Regions from separate parts of the Homo sapiens genome. Here region 1 is linked to region 2. The links are contacts of gene promoters, found by promoter capture Hi-C in blood cells and fetal thymus (Javierre and others, 2016). All regions are on one chromosome and are shown on one strand. The core of a region is centred on a gene start or on the middle of the fragment in contact, and the rest is flanking DNA. Distances in the headings are between cores, read along the strand shown. Region 1 overlaps GTF3C3 (general transcription factor IIIC subunit 3). Region 2 holds the start of ANKRD44 (ankyrin repeat domain 44).

Evidence for each region. Contacts are between HindIII fragments. The CHiCAGO score rates a contact against its expected background, and 5 or more counts as called.
Region 1: a contact is called between a fragment that was not itself captured here and the fragment with the promoter of ANKRD44 in region 2, in 1 of 17 cell types (total B cells). The highest score is 6.3, in total B cells.

Annotation. Positions count from the first base shown.
Region 1 is chr2:196,782,409-196,785,108 of GRCh38, reverse strand. It overlaps GTF3C3 (general transcription factor IIIC subunit 3), which reads left to right. Exons shown (of 18, transcript NM_012086.5): 8 at 180-252. Among named protein-coding and RNA genes, the nearest start is that of GTF3C3, 16 kb to the left of the region's middle. The HindIII fragment of the contact is 1,555 bases long and covers 629-2,183 here.
Region 2 is chr2:197,309,441-197,312,140 of GRCh38, reverse strand. It overlaps ANKRD44 (ankyrin repeat domain 44), which reads left to right and starts at 1,361. Exons shown (of 28, transcript NM_001195144.2): 1 at 1,361-1,563. The coding sequence starts at 1,537. ANKRD44-DT (ANKRD44 divergent transcript) reads right to left here and starts at 1,075. Exons shown (of 4, transcript XR_923750.3): 1 at 1-1,075. RefSeq lists silencers at 1,046-1,125, 1,136-1,455, 1,506-1,885 and an enhancer at 2,009-2,510. The HindIII fragment of the contact is 14,364 bases long and covers 1-2,700 here.

The DNA of each region.
Region 1 (2,700 bases), core at 157-2,656, 530 kb after region 2:
TTAGTTAATAGGATATTAAAATGTTAATGTGTCACAGGGTTTCTCATTTTTAAAAGACTCTTTCTTTTTATAGCCCAACTTTATATTAGGGATTATTTGAAATAACTGTACAAATCTTTGCATTATGAAATGGTTTTTCACACATATTTTATTTCCTTTCTTCTTTCCCATTCTTTTAGATAATTACAGATTTTTCTGGAATTGTGCTGGAAAAAAAAACTTCAGAAGAAGGCACCTCAGAAGAGAATAAAGGTTGTAGTTTCCTCTGCTTAGGAAAGTGTATATAATCCTCTCTTGGTCATAAGGTGGCGTTTTATGGTGAAAATTTATTTCATACTGTGGTGAGTTGATAGTTAATGTTCTCATAATAAGTTTTCCCAAGAAGCATTTTTTTCTCAGAGATTTCATATCTTGTGAGTATTGACTTACAAGTAATCTTTAAAAAAATTTGTTTTGAGTCCCTGTATGTCCATTTGAACATGGCATTTTTCATTGACAGTCTTTTTCATTCCTTTTTTTAGGAAAAAAAACGAATTACTGAAGTTTATCAAAAACTTTTAGCACTGAAGCAATTTACTTTTCAAATAGGACCTAAAATGCTCTTACTTAAAACATTTGACTTTAAGCTTAAGCATTCACATAATAAGTAGAAACTAATATGATTACCCTACATTGTTTGAAAACTCAAATATATAATTAGTGATCTGGTTAGAAAGTTATACCTAAGTGTGGCTTGCAGTCTCTTTGTACCATACTCATTAACCTATTCTGTAAAAATATTAACATTCAAGACCCTACATCAAGTTGTAGCAAAATTGATCTTTATGAGCAGAGTATATAACCCGGCTCTTGTAAGAGAATTCCTGTATAGTACCTTCAACCCCTACACTGTGAGGATTTTGATGGAATTTGTGGAAGGACCAAGTGAGTTGGTACTGAGTCCTGCCTGGTTCATAACAGCTCCTTCCGTGGCCTGTCATGATGCCTAAAAATTCCATCATTATGTAATCCTTTGGGCTAAGGCATCATTATTCAAAAACAAAAACTGTTACTTAAAACATGATCCATCCTAATGGTGAGCAGTAATTCACTTACACAAGCCAATCTGTGCTAATTCATAGAGAGTAAGGCCCAAGGTGAGATGTGGGACAGATAAATGTTGAAGTGGAAAGTTTTTGGGGAAGGGAAACCCAGTTCAGTAAGTTTCTTGTAAGGGACTGCTAGGTGTGTGGAGACTACGCAGATGAGTATGATATTTCCTGCTCTCAAGGAAGTGGAGGCGGGAAGAGGCGTTCAAATGAGGTGCATACAGTTTTAAGAGTTGTGTGATAATTTCTGTAGCAAAGTTGATGTTATGGGAAAATAGAGGAGAGCAGTATACAAGGATCAGAAGATGTTTATAGAGGCCCAATTTAAGCAGACACCCATGGGGAGTGTGATCCAGATTGAGTCACAGGGTGTAGGAGCACTGCTTGGAAGAGCAGGACCAGATCACAGGCTGTGGTTGGGGCTGTTGAGTCATCAGGGTGGTGTGAATGAGTAGAATAAGGAGTAGAAATTGTGGATGAAAGCATGGATTAGGGCATGTGAAGGAGGCTTTGCCAGTTTTGATACTTTACTAGGACCTGGCTTAGGCACGAGCCAAGGCCCAATGAAGTTATTATTTTACTGTCATAATTTCTGCTTAAGATTTTTCTTCTTAATTGTGTTGAAAATCTGTCCTTTGTTTGGAAAACTTGGTAGAGAAATACCAAGTTCTGTTCAAGTTTTAATTGTAGATATAATCATTTTGTTGTTTAATATATTTTACTTCCCTCCCTCCCTCCCTCCCTCCTTCCCTCCTTCCCTTCCTTCCTGGCACATATTAACATAAATCAACAACAGGTTAGAGTTTAAGTAGTGGCTTCTTTATTTTTTAGCATGTAAAATAACGGTGCATCTGAAATCTGGCAGCTTAGTGTTGATGAAATAACTTTAAAGAAAAAGATATGTCCAGAAGACTAGGAGATTAAAACAGATACAAAGTGAGCAAAGGTAGTTTTTTAGTATGCATTTTAAAAAATGAGACCATTTATGGTAGATTATGTATTGTCTATTGACAGTCACATTTTTAAATTCTTCTGAATGTGAAAGACCTAATGGGAGTTCAGGAGAATAAAGTATCAGTGACACAAAGACAAGCTTTTTAAAAGATAGTGTATGTTAAATGTTAGTTAATAATATATAAGCTGTAGGGGCTATAAATATATATACTGCTTTCCTTAGCATTGTCAAGTTGCCATTAAAGTATCTAAATACTTACTCTCAATCTCCATACTTACCTGATTGAACTGGTAACAGTTTGTTTACCTGCACAGGTCCCAGACTAGTTTGAGTAGCACTGCCCTGTAGCATTATGAAGTGACCTCCTTACCTTTTTAAATATAGTTGGTCTGAATTCTACATTGTCTCATATTGAGATTGTGACACCTATTTTTTTTTTTTGTTTGCACCTGCCTGCTATACCTTTGTCCTTTTATTTTCAGCTTTCCTGAATCACTTGATTTTAGGTATACATCTTGCATTCAACATAAGGTTGAGTTTTACTTTGTGATTTGATATGAAAGCAGGGTTTTTGACCTATGCATCTATACACACTATATTTTTAAGGCCTATGCCGAGATATAAAGTATTTCATATACTATAATTTTCTTGCTGAAA
Region 2 (2,700 bases), core at 112-2,611:
TTTGGGGGAGGTTCTAAGAGTAGGGAGGAAGAATGGACATTTGGTTTGTGAATATACAGTAGAGGCAGATGTTTGGTCTTGACCAAAGAATTCTGTAGCTCTAGTTTGCTCTTCAAAGCTGTTCAATGCTGCCCTACAGGTTTGCTCTATGGCCTGCCAGGGGCACATGGGGCTGCCTGGGAGCACTTCCTCTCCACTTGCTTACTTAATTCTCCCTTCTCCAGATCTCAACTCCTGTCACTTTCTCAGGGAAGCCTGCCCTCACCCACCAGTCTGGTCTGATTCCTTTGTTGTGGGTTCACTTCAGAAGCATGTTTTCCCTTGAGATCCCTTATCTCAGTTTGTAATTACATTCATTAGCAGAGACTATGCGGTTTATGTTGGCATCTTCTGAGAGCAGGTTATCTTATTTATGCTCTCCGTTTATTCCCGTGCCTAGCCAGTGCCTGACAAGGTAGGGACTCAGTACATAGCTGTTCAATGAATAAGTGTTTGCTCCAAATTCCAGAACTATCAACAGCTACTATGCTTACGAATATGCCCGTTGTATCTGTAGCCCATGGTGTTTGACAGCTGTCTTCTATTTGTTGAAGAGCTTGGTAACTTGGGATTTTGTAGAGATCAGTAAGGACTGGTGGGAACACCCAAAAGACCCATCAACTCGGTGATTTAGGACTGCTTTGCTTCTCCAGGAACTCCACTCCACCCCCACCAGCAAAAACCAAACCCAGGGTGTTTGAATTTAACAATAGTATGTGTGTGTGCATATGTGTGTGTGTGTTTAGCTGGAAAGTGGCTGGAGAACAAGGTGGAAGGGCCAGAGCTTCTGTTCCCTCCACCCATAAATGTTTGGCAAACACCCTGTAAAGAATCACAATGTGTCCGCTGCCTCCTGGCATTAAACAAAGGGAGCATCATAATTGCGGTCCCTGGGATCTTCGGGGCGCTGCCACCACCTGATTCTGGGTTAGGGGAAGGGGGCGTAACCCCATCTCCCCGGTTAAAGTGGACGGCATGTGAGTGAGAGCCTTTCCTGCCCCCTCGGGGTGTGTCCCCGCGGGCTTCCCCACCCATATGTGTGAGACCCGTCAGGGAGGCCCGCGATCCGCCCAGGGCCCGGGGCCGGCCCGGCCGGGCGCCGCGTGCAGGTGCGGAAGGCAGGCGGCGGCCCGGTGCGGGCGCGGGGGCAGCGCCGGGGGCCGGGCTGCGCGGCTCGGCTGCGGGCGGCAGGAGGCAGCGTCGGCCCAGGCGGCGGGCGGCGAGCGAGCCAGCGCGCGGTGATGTCAGTGGCGGCCCGGCTGGCAGCAGCCGGTACTTCCTGTGGAAAGGCGGGCGGGCTCGGCTGCAAACCCCACTAGCCAGTGTCAGCCTCTCGGCGGGAGGAGGCGGCGGCGGAGGAGGAGCAGGGGGAGGGCTGTCAAATTCGGGAGCCAGATTTTTTCCCTTCTCCTGGCAATCCCTTCCGCTTCCCCGGCTCCCGGCGTGACATCTGCGGGCCGGGGACCTGCATGTGTGTGCGCGCGAAGGAGCGGAAGAATGGCAGTGCTCAAACTCACCGACCAGGTAGCGGGCGGCGGCGCCGGCGGGCGGGACGCGCGGGCGCGGGGCGGCGCGGAGCCCGGCGGGGGGATGGGGGCGCGGCTGGAGCGCGCCCGCGAGCTGTTTACTCGCGGCGAAGGGGAGGACTGTGTGCGGCCGCCGGTGCCTCCGAGAGCCCGCGGCGGCAGCTCCCCTCCGCCGCGCCGTCCCCGCCCTGGGCCGTCGGAACTGCGCGCCCGAGTCTGGGGCAGGGCCCGTGGGCGCTGGGCAGCCGGCGTGCGGGAGTGCGGCGGCCGCGGGCCCGGCGGGGCTGGGGAGGGGGCCGGGGGCTCGAGGTGCTCTCGGGACTCGCACCGCGCCGCGTTGCGTGGGCGCCGCCGGCCCGGGCCCCGGGGAGGAGGACGCTGCACGAAGAGGGAGAAAGGATCGCAGACTGGGACCCCTCCCCAAACCTAGCAGGAGTCCTGCCCAGAATGCGGCTCTTGTGTGGCCGGGCTGTCTTTATTTATCCGTTGGATGTGACATCCGACTTCCTCTTTAGTTGCGCCAGGCTGTGTGCGTGGTGCGGGATGGGGACCCCTGGAGACCGCCCTTTCGGATCGGGCCGGTCCCTCTGAGGAGGAGGTGAAGTCGGCTCGGAGCCTCCACTCACAGGCGGTGGGCTACGGTCTGCCTGTGTCTACCAGCTTTGTTGGCTTTCCTTGCTGAGACACCACACAGGGCAGCTCTGGAGTCCTGGCTTGGAGAGGTGGGGTTATTTGCTGAATCGGATTGACAGTCCTCGCCGCAGGTCTGTGGAATGGTAACAGCCACCTTCGCGGACTCTGCTGCTCTTACATTGACACTAACAGGCACCAAACCAAGTTGCATGACAAAACTCTTTGCAGCTCTTTCCACGAAAAAAGGAAACGGCTTGCTACCCCCACCCCCGTTTATTCGTGGGTAGTGAAAGGAACTTTGTTTTGGGGTCCTGGTAGGCAGAGAGGCAATCTTGACTTTGACTACAGGGTCAGACTTGCCAGCCCTTGGTATTAAATACCTCAAACTTGTCCATGGGTTGCATCTGCTGCCTTGCGTTCTCCAGTTAGTATCCAGCCAGAACATCTTGCAACTGAAGTGCAGTCCGTCACCACAATGATTTGCAATGATTTGTTCTCCTGC